Regions from separate parts of the Homo sapiens genome. Here region 1 is linked to region 2. Evidence: promoter capture Hi-C in 16 types of primary human blood cells and fetal thymus (Javierre and others, 2016). All regions are on one chromosome and are shown on one strand. Each heading gives the region's core, a stretch centred on a gene start or on the middle of the fragment in contact. The rest is flanking DNA. Distances are from core to core; before and after follow the strand shown.

The links. The method cuts DNA at HindIII sites, captures the fragments that hold promoters and counts their contacts. A CHiCAGO score of 5 or more calls a contact.
Region 1: the fragment with the promoter of MMS19 here is called in contact with the fragment with the promoter of GOLGA7B in region 2 in 8 of 17 cell types (naive CD4 T cells, total CD8 T cells, naive CD8 T cells and 5 more); the score reaches 9.8 in naive CD4 T cells.

What each region holds. Positions count from the first base shown.
Region 1 is chr10:97,496,839-97,503,617 of GRCh38, reverse strand. It overlaps MMS19 (MMS19 cytosolic iron-sulfur assembly component), which reads left to right and starts at 5,196. Exons shown (of 31, transcript NM_022362.5): 1 at 5,196-5,345. The coding sequence starts at 5,234. UBTD1 (ubiquitin domain containing 1) reads right to left here and starts at 4,694. Exons shown (of 3, transcript NM_024954.5): 1 at 4,345-4,694. The coding sequence starts at 4,414. RefSeq lists silencers at 4,075-4,274, 4,285-5,044 and enhancers at 5,285-5,454, 5,815-5,864, 5,541-6,071. The HindIII fragment of the contact is 10,400 bases long and covers 1-6,779 here.
Region 2 is chr10:97,848,046-97,854,751 of GRCh38, reverse strand. It overlaps GOLGA7B (golgin A7 family member B), which reads right to left and starts at 4,909. Exons shown (of 5, transcript NM_001010917.3): 1 at 4,437-4,909. The coding sequence starts at 4,448. GOLGA7B-DT (GOLGA7B divergent transcript) reads left to right here and starts at 4,954. Exons shown (of 3, transcript NR_108035.1): 1 at 4,954-5,086. The HindIII fragment of the contact is 7,033 bases long and covers 4,038-6,706 here.

The DNA.
Region 1 (6,779 bases), core at 3,947-6,446, 350 kb after region 2:
ACCACAGTGCCAAGCCCAACCAGCCCCAAACAGGGCCCTGGGTCTGTCCACCCCGAGCTTGAGATTCCAGAACGTAAGTGGATATGCCTGGCACATCACAGAGTCAGATATTTGGGTTTCAGCCCTGCCACATTCTCAAAGGGTGGAGCTGGGCAAGAGACTTGCCTGTTCTACCACCTCTACCTCTCCCTGGAGTGGCTGGGGGAGAGGCTGCTTCACCCAGTTCATGGGCAGAGATATTTATCTACCTAGTGTACATGTATGGGGTGGCAAGAGCCCCCACCAAAGGAGTAAATCCCCAAGTATTCTCCGAAGCATACAAGAACCACCCAGCATCTGAAGGAGAAGAACACAGACCTACTGGGGATGCATTAAGAGTAACAATCCAAAAAAAATTTTTAAGGCTGGGTGTGGCGGCTCACGCCAGTAATCCCAGCACTTTCGGAAGCCAAGATAAGAAGATTACTTGAGGCCAGGAGTTTCAGACCAGCCTGGGCAACATAGCAAGACCCCATCTCTACAAAAAATAAAAAGTTAGCTGGGCGTGGTGGTGCACACCTCTAGCCCTAGCTACTGGGAAGACTGAGGGGAGAGGATCACTTGAGCTCAGGAGTTAAAGGCTGCAGGGAGCTATAACTGCACCACCATACTCCAGCCTGAGCGAGAGAACAAGACCCTCTCTCTCAAAAAAAAAAAAATATATATATACATATATACACACATATATATACGTATATATATACATATATACGTATATATACGTATATATGTATACACACATACGCACACACACACATATGAGTGACAATCACAAAACTTGATGAGACGAGAGGACCTCTCCCTTCTCCCTAATGCAAGAATCCCTGACCAGACAGTATTGTGTCTCTGCTTTGTCTACCAAGTGACTAAGAAGGCAGAACTAAGGACAAAGGGTGACATTACAAGCCATAAAGATTTCACCTCAATAACTTTCTCGCTTTAAACAGCTGCCTTTGTGAAGATGATAAAACAGCTCTAATGATCTTGTATAACCCTCCCCCTTTCTGAAATATTGAAAGTGTGACCCAGAAAGGTTAGATGACTTGCCCAGGGTCACTGAGTTATAGGCCCAGGACTAGAACTCAGGTCCTAGCTCCCTGTTGAGGCTTTCTTCCCATTACATTAGTGCCAAAGGAAGGTAAGAGTTACAGTGGCGCTGGGGGAGTTTTAGGCATTAGTCTTACAACGTAAAACTATGTCCTTGTCAAAGGAAAAGCCACAGATGTTACAGGAATGCCAGGTGCACTGTGGAGTTAAGAAGGATTCCTTCCCTTGTACCAAATTTGTCATCCTACAGAGTTCCCCTCGGCTTTGGACTTTATGAATAAAGCTATTCATAGTAGGACCCACAGAACTAAAGCAATGATAAACTAGCAGGTAAAAAAAAAAATGCAGATATATGAAAAATGCAGATGGTAGGATGAAGTTGAGTTTGCTTTCTAAAATCAACAAATACTGAGTGCTACTTCTGTACAACTCATTGTGTTAAGTGCTGAATGTGTGTGTGTGCGTGAGAGAGACATATACTACAAGGATAAGACAGAACCCAGGTCTTCAAGGCTTGCAATGTAGTTGCTGATAAAAGACTGTAAACATCAAAGACATGATTAATAATACAGAGTACATAATTGTTAAGTAAGTGGCATAGATAATGTGTCTGCAGGAGTTCTCAGAAGGAGCAATCACTTCCACGGGGTGTGTGTGGTGGGGTGCGGAGGGAGGGGGAAATGGCAGACTTGTCAGGCAAGGTGCTTCAAACAAGGCACGGCACTTGAAATGAACCCAAAGGATGAAAGACTCTCGATAAGAAGGAAATGGCACGAGCAAACACTGGTGGTCTTAATGTCAGAGAAGGGAAAGAAATCAGGACTTAAAAGAAAGGACTGGCCCACACTTGAACAGCCTTGAAAGTTAAAGTACTTGTAGGAGTGGGAAAATGCAGAAAGGTGTTTTGTTGTTGTTGTTGCTGTTGTTTTGTTTTTTTTTGAGACAGAGTCTCGCTCTGTCACCCAGGCTGGAGTGCAGTGGCGCAATCTCAGCTCACTACAACCTCTGCGAAACTTCCAGTTCAAGCAATCTCCCTGCCTCAGCCTCCTGAGTAGCTGGGATTACAGGCGCCTGCCACCACCATGCCTGGCTAAGTTTTGTATTTTTAGTAGAGACAGGGTTTTGCCATGTTGGCCAGGCTGGTCTCGAACTCCTGATCTCAGGTGATCCACCTGCCTTGGCCTCCCAAAGTGCTGGGATTACAGGCATGAGCCACCACGCCTGGCCAAGTACAGAAACATTCTGAACACAGAACTATAAAATCTGGAAGAAGTTAATTTAACAAATGTCTTCTGTGGGGACAACTGTGTGTAGGACTGAATGATGACTGAAGATGAAGTTGCCTTTGGGGGGTACCTCACTTCAGCCTGAGACAAGGGTTGACTTGAGGTGAGAAGGGTACAAAGTAGGGTGGCAAGGGGCAGGTTTGCAAGTCCCGCGGAAGGAAGACCCAGCAGACCCCAATGACTGGCTGAGAGGCAGGCGACAAGGAAGCAGAGAAAGTCATGAGAGAAAGAGCTCTTCACAGCCTAAAGTTAGGCAGCTGGAAGAACATAAGAGTAAAGAAGGAAAGCTGGTGGACAGGGAGCGATGCAGAGCCTGGTTTTGGAGGTGTTAAATCTGGGAATATCTATATCACAGTGTCCAGTGGGCATCTAGAGATGGGGTTCTGGGGTTCAAGAGAGAAGAGCTGAAGTTTAAGCATAGGGGTATTCCCAATGGACAAAGAGTTGTGGGACTGAACAAGATTTCTCTGGGAGAGAGTGTAATGAGAGAAAAAACAGAATGTCAAACTTAAGCACCAGCGTGCCCCCAAGCTAGAAGGTGATGGTGGAAAGGGGTGTTCAGAAAGGAAAACCAAGACAGTCTGATGCCAAGAAAGGAAGGGGGGGAATGTCTCGTAGGAGAGAGTTGTCAACAGCAAAAAATGCTGCAAAATCAATTATGGGGCCTGAACACATATTTGTTGAACAAATGAATGAATGAAAGCAAGCCAGCCCTTGGTTTTGAGAGTCATCTCTCCTCAGCCAGAAGAATGGCCAGAGTTACCTTCAGACAAGAGAATTTCAATAAGTTTTACTGCATCCTTCCCATAAAAACACATTTCTGCCTCCACAAGTCATCCTGTCCACCATGCAGACATCCTTCCCTGCTTCCCCTGGTTCCCCCATCTTCCTTCCCAGTTTCCGCAACCCAAGCAACACACCTTCGGTGTCAAGGGAGACAGGAAACTCCAACTAGAGTTTCCACTTCATTAACAACTCTGCCTGTGGCTCCTCTTACATAAGGGGATATGTGGCAATGGGGTGGGAGAGGAGGCTGAGTTCTAGCCCCAGGTGAGCTCCTAACTAGCTGTGTGACTTTGGACAAGGTGTTCAACCTCTCAGGATCTGGGCTTTGACACAGAGTAGGAGATGGGTCCATCTGGAATCCAGACAAGTTTGAGCTCTCAAGTCTACGATATTATTCCCAGCGGGTCCTTGCAACACCCTCAAAGAAGGAAGTGAGTGTAAGACCCAGAAAAATGACCGACAGACCTCTTCCCGGGGCGAAATGCCAGGGCAGGCGGGGTGTACCATGAAAGTGAGAAAGCGTTGCGCGGGCCTGGAGGATCACCAGCGAGCGATCTCACTCCCAAAGCTGGGAAGGATCCCAACAATCCCAAGGGTGACTCTCACCCCGCACCCCATCTTTTATAGACTCCCAGACGGCCGAGAGGCTCTAAAAACCCCTGCGGGAAAAATAAAGATTTCTTTCCCAGAGTCCTGCGCTGCTTTGCAAGTCGGATTCCCGCAGACACGATCTGCAGCTCGATAATGACACAGTCTTTGGAAGGAGCGACTGTTCTCGCCTCGCTCGCTCCGAGTTCTGGGGACGCCTGGCTGCCCGCGCCGTGCCCCGACGGGCCGGCGTCCGACCCCGGCCGGAGCTGCCAGGCCAGCGGCGCCCTCGCCCCCGGCCTCCTCCCGATCCGTCGGCCCCGCTGCGGTCTGCAAACATTTCCTGCCCCCACCCCCACCAGGAGCTACCCAGTTGGAGAGAGTTGGTCGCGCAGCCGGCTCAGTGCTCGCAGTTGCCCCAACTCAGCTCCCCCGGCCGCCCGGCGCTGGGGAGCGGCCCCCTCTGGCTGCGGAGCAGCCCATCGGGGAAACCCAAGCGCCAGCACCAGTGGGGAGTCCATCGGTAAGCCCAGGACTCGGGCGAGGAGGGGGACAACTGGCGGGATGCCCGAGGCCCTGCTCCCTTCCCCATCGTTACCTGCTCGCTTGCGGGGGTGTCCCGGGGCTGCCGGCCTCTCCCGGCGCTGTCTCCCCACGCAGTTGCCCATGCTGGCTCCTCAGCCAGTCCCCATGCACCGGAGGCGGCGGGGTGGTCGGCTGCTCAGCGGACGGCGGCGTCCCGGGTCAATGGCTCCGGCCGCCCGGCATCGGGCGCTCCCCGATCTCCCCCCGGGGGCGCGCTCAGCCCCAGCGATGGCTCCGCCAAAACTTTGCGGGCCAGGGGAGAGAGGGAAGTGGCAGACTCCCCAGCACGGTCCCAGGTGGCCGGGCCAGGGGGGCCCGCGACGGTGCCCGGCCGGAGACCAGCTCCGCTGGAGGGGCGGAGAGAGGGGGCGGGCACCGCCGCAGCTACTCCCGGCTCGCTCGGGGCACCAGGCAGGGGCCGGCCCCCTGGAGCCTGTCACTCACCTGCCTAACCCCGCCCCAGGCCGGCCCCTCTCCCTTCCGCCGGCTCGCGGTGCCCGCGCCGCCGCCACCACCCGCCCCAGGTGCGCATGTGACCGACAGCACCGCCCCCTAGGGCTGGGCCTGATTTTCTCATTGGCTTCCCCCGTGGTGCGTACCGCCCCTCTCCCCACCCAGCCAGGTGCCCGCCCCGCAGCCCGTCTCCCGGGGAGCCGGGCTGGGAATTATTCGCCCTCAATCGCCTCCGGCTGCGTGCCCAGCAGCCGCCTTCCCTCTCGGTGCCACCGCCCCATTTCAGGCCCCGCCCCTCCCTGGAACTGCCTAGGCAGAAGCCGGCAGGCACGTGACCCCGGCGCCCCGCCCCCTTGCGCTTCCCCGGAGATTGGCTCGGGAGGCGCATGCGCGGAGAGCCCGTCTCGAGCCACCGCCCATATCCCCTCCCACGGTCTCTAGTTCGCGTTATGGCCGCTGCCGCGGCTGTGGAGGCGGCGGCGCCTATGGGTGCCCTATGGGGCCTCGTGCACGACTTCGTCGTGGGTCAGCAAGAGGGCCCCGCTGACCAGGTGGCTGCAGGTACGGCAGACGGCGCCGCGCGCCTTCCGCATGGGGGCCAACAGGAGGGAGCGGCCTCAGTACAGGCGCCGGGCGGGAAGGGAGGAGCGGGGTGACTTTGAGAGATTGGTCTCAAGGCTGGTTAGTGAGCACCGCGAGGTTCAGAGCCGTAACAAGTTAGAGAGTTGCCTGTGTCTTCCTTAAAACCATTTACACTTCTCATCTCCCTGTAGCCAATTATAGGGAATCATTACATTTTACAGATGAGGAAACTGAGGCTCAGCGAGGGCAAGAGGACTTGCGCAGGGCTGCAGACCAGGCAGGAGGGGGAGGTGGGACTCGGACCCAGGCGTTCAGGTCCGAACCGGGTGCTCACGCCACGAAGCCATGCTGTTTGTGGGAGGTTGACGTGTGGAGGTGCATCCTCGCAGCGTCCGCTCCCGTCGCGTGGCATCCTGGGAGTGGCAGATGGCCCCGCGCTCTGACTGGCTGGAATTAAGAGGAGTTGAGGAGACGGGCCAGGAGGAGCTGGAGATGTTCTGGGTGTCCTCCTTAAGACTTTCTCTCCGTTTCTTGCTAAAGTTCTTGATTAGTTTGCTCCATGACGTTTTATGTGGCGTTTGTTTTTGTCTTCTTCCCAGACCCCCACTTTCCTGCTTTTGACCAGTTCAGAGATCTCTTAGTTCAGACAGCTTATCTAAAATTAGAATAAAACGATTTCCAGGCTTCCGTGGAGTTCTGAGACTTTGCTCTTCTAGGAAAAAAAAAAAACTACTAAAAAGTTATTGAATGTTAGGAGGCCTTCAGATCTTGGGTTTAAGTAACAATATAAAATTATCTAATGAGTAGTTTTTTTAAAAAAACTTTGGAAATTTCGTATGCTTGGAGAGAAGTAAGGACACATTTCTCTTGGATATTGAGCGTATTAACCTTTAGAATATGTAAGAAAAGAATAGTGAATCTGCTAGAAATATAATACTTTGTTCGTTAGCAGTATTCCACTTTAATTCAATCATGCCACTATTGTTGAATACATATTATTCCCCAAACATGATGCAAAGCAATAGGAATATAAATACAAATTAGGTTAGATCTGTGCCCACCAGGAACTTATAGTATGCTGGGAGAGGCAACCATTCTGTAAGAGGTGTGTGCAGCGTAGTTTGGAAGCATCAAGGAGCAAATACCTGGTGCTGCCACCAAACTTAACATCTTACAATTTTATGAAATGTAGTGTGTTATCAGTGTTTACAATTTACAAGTACAGTGTCTTACCAATGTCATTTTCCCTCATATTTTATTATGAAAATTTTCGAATATCCAGCCAAGTATAAAGAATTTTATAAGGAGCACATCACTTAGGATCTATCCTACCATTAACATTTTAATATTACTTGCTTTATCATATAGCTATCCATCCATTTAAATTGCAGATACCTGTACACTTTCCTTTAA
Region 2 (6,706 bases), core at 3,660-6,159:
GCTACCTTACATAATAAATTCCCATTTCCTCTTGGCTTTGATCCACAGGTTCTCAAGTAGCCAGAGTAGGATAAGTCAACACCCTTTTCAGCACCAACAATATCCTGAGCCTTAGACTACTATCCAGGCTCTGGGTGACCAGAGATCTGCTTCTCTCCCTGGAGAGTGTTTGTGGAGGAGCAACTCTGAGGAGTTGCTAAAGGATGATATCAGACACATTTTATATGGCAGAGCCTTAGTCTCCCAGACCTACATAGAGTACATATATTACAGACTCATCTGAAGTTGGTGAAGAGCCGGATTTAAGGCAAGGCAGGGTCTCCTGGTTTTCTCCATTCATGGTGGCTTGAGTGTGAAGTGCCAGGAAGCCCTAGTGGAAAGATGGCCCACTGACCTGGGGGCAGGAGACCTGACCCTGGGCCACATGGCCCTGGGAAAGTCTTCCCTTCTCTGCACCTCCATTTCTTCAACTGGAAACTAAGAAACTGGAACTACATCATTGCTCAAGCCCCTTTCATCTCTGACATTCTAGAGGCTTTATCAGGGATTATGAATGCAAATGTTTACAGGGGCTGAGCAATAAGTGGGCCAGGTGGGGCCTGGGGCTAATTAGAAAACTGGTGCCCCATCTCAAGGAGACAGATGACTATTGCCACGTGGGAATGTATACCCAGGTTGCCAGCACTTCTGGTGTCTCAAAAGAAGCCAGAAATCTAGATCTTTTTAACATCAAATATTCTGATTTTTGAATATTTCCAATACATTTTTAAAATGTATAAGCACTCAACAGACTAAGTAAGGCACACCCATGGACCAGACTCATTTCTAGAGCTGCTAGTTTAAGACCTCTAAATAAAGAATCCCATGGCTGGGGCCCCTTGGGCAAGAGCTAAGCCAGGCTCCAGGCCACTGGCCAGCTACTAAGTTTTCAGAAAGCTGGTGGGGTTTTCAGCAGAGATCCGTGATGCTCTGAAATCCTACCAGAGGATATCAAAATATGTGCACAACTCTCTCTGAAGCTGCAGTTTCTGTGTTTCCCCTGGGTGTCTCCCAGGGGGTTCTTAACTGACCCAGAGACCTGAGCCTCTCTCCACTTCTCACCTTCCTCAACCCTGCCCCTCTCTCCCATTGCCACCCCTGGCTCACTGGCAGCAGAGTGAAGACAGGGCCGAGAAGCATTTCATAAGGAAGAAAATCAGTGGTGAGACCCATGGGTACCAATTTTCAAACTGCAGTATGAGAAGGAGGGGGAGTCTGCCTGGAGAGTGGGTACCACAGGTCACACATTTGGCTCCTGTTCACCTGACAGTCAACTAGCTGGGGTGCAGAGGAACAAGCTCTAGAGTGCAAATGAGCTCCTGGTCCAGTCTGCCCAAGTCCAACAGGAGTGCCCCCCTGGCGCCATCTTCATCCTCATTAAAAACCATCTCATTCCATAGGATGCATGTGAGGCATCGAGAATTAGGAGGTTCCGCTGATGCCAGCACTCTGCTTCCTGGCTGGGGTGTGAAGGAGGAGTGAGGATCATGAGTCACAGACAGCCAGGTCAGGCCTAAGGATAAAACACCAGCCACAAGACCTCCCTTCTTCTCAGCCTGTACCAGTGCTCAAGCCTGACCCAGTTGTCTACTCATCATTAATTCCATGCCTCAAAGATCAAACCTCCAAACACCCTGCTTGAATAACGCTACTTGGATGCATTTAAAAATCTCTTAGAGACCAAACCCCACCACTTGGAGAAGCCCCTCCCAGCCAGGCACTTCCCAGTTGTCCTTGGCCATCTGGACTATTTCCCAGGGCAGACCCTGCTCCCAGTGACACACATTCACAGAGGTTTGCTGCTCAGAAAATGGGCTCATTGCAGCTCTCCAAATGAGGTCAGTGTATCACTCAGGAGGCTCCATCCCTCCTCTGAGTTCCTTACAGACACCTCTCCCCTAATGCTAACTCCTAAACAGAAATTAGGGAACAGAAAAGACCCAGTTTCCACCCATGAATTTCTTCCCTCTCCCTCACCCCTCCCTCTCTGTCCCTCTCCCCACCCCCTTCCTCTCCCTCTCTCCTTCTCTCAATACAGCTTCTCCTAGAGCTGAGGAGTTCCTATTGAGAATCCTAACAGAATAATCATGGGAACTTAAAGCGATGTTTTCCCTCTCCCAACAAGTTTATCCTGGTAATCTCAACTCAATTCTAACAGTAAAAACAGCCTTGGGAGAATGACTCACCCCACAACCCAGAATACGTGCAGGTCCTGTGCCCTGGCAGAGCTAAGGCTTCCTGCCTCAGTTCTGCCATCAGAGTCCACCCAAGGCCAAATTGTGAAGTGAGGAATGTTTGTCCTCAGCTCCCCATCACTCCGGGACTTTCCTCTGTCCCTCTGCCCTCAAACCAACCCAGCCAGGCCAAGCAGGGGGCCTGAGTCCCCACACTCCAGCCCTTCATGACTTCCTTTGCATCCCTCTCTCCACCAAAGCTTCACATCAAGACCTGGAGGGCCCTCCTCTCTATCAGGTGACACAATAGGCTAATTGGATGCAGGAAAAAAAAGCACTGGCCAAAGAGGCAGAAGACTCAAGTTCTTATCCCATCCCTGCCACCTTTTAGCCATATTTTCCTGAATAAGTCTCAGCACTTCAGTTCCATCATCTGTAAAATGGGATAATGATGCCTTCTTTGGCTCCTTCACAGGGACCAGGCAAGTTTCTGAACCTTAGTTGTCTCATCTGTTAATTGGGCATAATAACACCATCCTTACCCACTTCATAGGGCTGCTCTGAGGCTTGAAAGAGATCACTTATGCGATAGTGCTTTGTACACAGGAAAGCGCAATATTTTCAGAGGCGTTATGAGCAGAGCCCCTCCCAGGGGAGAGTCACACATGTCTCATAGCAGCCTCCTGGAAACGCTGTCTTGACATAGAGATAGAAGCCTGCTGGTTGGAATCTGTGGGCCATGGCAGACATCCTGGGACAGATGGGCCTGTTGGAATCTGTCAGATCACATCGCAGAGGCAGCTGCCTTCTCTGCCCACGCTGCTGGCCCAGCCATGCCCATGTAGCTGAAGTTCCCCTTTTCTGTCCAACACAGCAGCCTCTGCTGCAGTCTGGCAGCCCTATCTGGAAGGTAACCAACTCCTTGGTTTCTCCCTTTGTTCTTCCTGCTGTCCTCCATGTCTTTGGTGCTTTGTGAGTACTCTGCATTCCTCTACTCTAGAAACCAAGCTCCCAGGGTCTGCCCAGGGCTTGCCCTCACACCAAGTCCTGAGGGGCAACTCTCCGCCTAGCTAACCTTGTGCCTTGTCAGAATGCCAAGCAATGCCAAGCAACAGCACCTTGTTCTGTGGTGGAAACTTGAGTGGAATAACAACAGCCACACTTGGTATTAATGTCACACTGCTCACCAGGATGCCCAGAAGCACTGCATTGAATCATTCACAGGCCTCTGCTCTCCCCCAGTGTATGCCAGCTGGATTGGAAATGGGGAGACACCACAAAGGAAGTCAACATCAGAACTGGGGAGACCCTGATGTCCTGAGTTTCGCTCCAAAAATTCAAAGGCAAAAACTTTCCGCTCTGCTGCTGACATGCTGTGTGGAGTAGCAAATTAGTCCTTTCGTTTTCCACACATCACCTTTATCATGTATAAAGTGGGAACATAAAGAGCCCAATCTCCCTCCTGAAATGAGGGGGGAAAGGGCAATCCCTAGGGGTAGAGGGGGGAATCCTCGACCTCAAGCATTATACCAAGATTCTGCCCTTAGCTAACAGGCCCCGTGGTTCAGCCTTCAAGTGCTTGAAGGTGACACACCTATCAGTGCACCTTGAAGAAGGCAGAAACTCCCATCAGATGGAGGGGAAATCTGGACACCCTGGGACAAAAAAAAAAAAAAAACTCGAATGGGGTAAAAAAGCAAGAAGGGTGATATGCAAAAGTGGAGACCAACCATTTGGGTTCTCAGCCTGAGGATGTCTTTGTCCCCTCCCTCCCGCAAAGGAAATGCGGATGTAGAGGTAAGTCTGTCATCCCTTAGCCAAGCTTTTGGGTTCAGAAGCTGACTGCATAGCAACAGCGGACAGCCGCCTTCCCTCCCCTCACACACGCACACACACGCGTCTCCAACCCTCTAGGAAAGCGGTTTCAGGACTTGTGAAGTCCAGGGAAGGGGAAACCCCAGCCTGGGGCCCTGAAGCAACCCTGGCGCTAATGCCAACAAGTGTCGCGGACAGCTTGGGGGCTCAGGTGGGGCGAGGGGAAGATTGACACGCAAGGGGGAGATGAGCCCTCACTAAGCCCCTACCTCCTCCCTCCAGACCTGACCTGGGGAATCACCCCATCCCACCCCCAACTCCCGCCTCCCACTCCTGCCCAGCCCACCCCTAGGGCATTTGGTCCCGCGGCAATCGGGCACTGCCTGCGGGTGGGGCGCTCGCCCCTACCTCGGTGGCCATGATCCGGGGGCGCTCGGAGGCTGTCGCGGGGCCGGGCGAGGGGGGTCTCCGCGGTGCTGACCCCGGGAGCAGGTGGGCGGCGGCGGTGGCGGCGAGCTGGGGCCCGGGGCGCTGTCCGCAGTGCTGATGCGGGCGCCGCGGGCCCGGGCTCAGGTGGGCCGGGGGCGGGCGGGCGGCTGGGTCCAGGCAAGGGGCGCGGCGCTGTCCGCTGTGCTGAGGCAGGCGCCGGGCCCGGGAGGCGAGGCCGCGCCCGAGGCTCCTCACGGCCCGATCGCCCGCTGCCGCGGCTCCTGCAGGCAACGGCCGGGTTTAGCTTTGGCGGCGGCGGCGGCGGGGATGGGGGCGGCCGGGGGAGGAGGGGCCAGGAGCCGCCGCTGGCCGGGAGGGGGAAGCCGCGGCCCCCAGACTCCGGCGCCGCCGGAGAGGAGCCCCGCCCGGGCCACAGGCTCGGCTACCGCCCCGCGCGAGGCCCCGCCTCCCCTTCCTGCCCTCCCCCTCGTGAGAGCCCCGGAGCTCTGCGCTCGCTTCCGTGGCCCCCGGGACATCCAGCCTGAAGGACAGTGGGGCAGGAATTTTTCCGGGGCAAGACGCTTCAGCCTGCAAGGCTGACCGCTCCCGAGCCGCTCGCAGGCCCGCAGGTGAGGCCTCTCTACCTTTCCAGCCACCCCCAGTGCCCCGGCTCTACCCCTCCCTCGCCCCGCCCCCAGCTTCCTCTTTAGAATAATTTCTTTTCTTTCTCTCCCTTTTCCTCTCTGTGTGCCCCCCCCCCATATACACACAGTCAGGCTTGCACGGACGGCCCCTCTTTTCCCCTCTCCTTTGCACTTCCTGGAACCCCACTAGCTAGACAAAGATCCTGCCGACCGCAGAGAATCATTTCCTTTCTTTAAATACGTGCCCACATTTCGTTCTCAGCCATAGCCTGGGGTCCCTTCTTTCAGGCAGCTCCAGAATTGAAGCCAGTCTCTCCTTGCTGCTCTTCCTGGACCTGGTCCCCACCCTTTACTCTTCCCTCTCTCCTCTGCAACCCGAGTTTACATACACGCACCACCACTACCACCACCACTCAAAAACCACAAGCAGATGGTGCCAAACCGGTATGCTCACTCTCCAAGGATGGCAGGTCTGGCTCTGGTGCCACCTTCGCACTTTTGACATCATAAATTCCAACTAAATGATCTATTTGTTTAATAAAAAGGAGACCAGGTGCAGTGGCTCACACCTGTAATCCCAACACTTTGGGAGGCTGAGGTGGGAGGATTGCTTGAGCCCAGGAGTTCAAGACCAGCCTGGGCAAGACCCTGTCTGCACAAAAAATGAAAACATTAGCCGGGCGTTGTGATGTGTGCCTGTGGTCCCAGCTACTCAGAAGGCTAAGGCAGGAGAATCACTTGAATCCAAGAGTTCAAGGCTGCAGCTAGCCATGATTGTGCCACTGTACTCCAGCCTGGGCAATAGAGCAAGAGCCTGTCTCTTAAAAAAATAAAAATAAGGCCGGAAGCAGTGGCTCATACCTGTAATCCCAGCACTTTGGGAGGCCGAGACGGGTGGATCACCTGAGGGCAGAAGTTCAAGACCAGCCTGGCCAACATGCTGAAACCCCATCTCCACCAAAAATACAAAAAAAAATTAGCCAGGCATGGTGGCACCCGCCTGTAGTCCCAGGTACTCAGGAGGCTGAAGCAGGAGAATTGCTTGAACCCGGGAGGCAAAGGTTACAGTGAACTGAGATCACACCATTGCACTCCAGCCTGGGCGACAAGAGCGAAACTCTGTCTCAAAAAATAAATAAATAAATAAATAAATAAAATAGACATAAAAAAAAGGAAACACCAACACAAGTGCCTTTTTACATACCCATAATACCCCTTGGTCTCTTTGAGGGGTGGTGGGGTGTGCTCCTCTGCAGCTCACTGCTGCCTGAGAGTCTGAAGCCCACACACAGGGAGAACCTGGCGGCCAAGAGACCTGGCCCAGGCTTTTCCAGCTGTATAACCTCGAGCAACTGTCTTGTTTTCTGAGCTTATGGTTCTCTTTCTGTAAAATGTGAGTGTTGGATTTCACTAGACTGTTTCTAGGACCTTTTGTTTTTTCTCCAACCTTTTATTTTGACATTTTTAAACATACCAAAATGTTGAAAGAATAGTACAATAAACTATGCCATCTACCTAGCTCCAACAATTGCTTTTTGCCACATTTGCTTTATTGATAGATATGAAAACAGAGCTATATTTGCCTAGATTATCAGAAGGTGACAG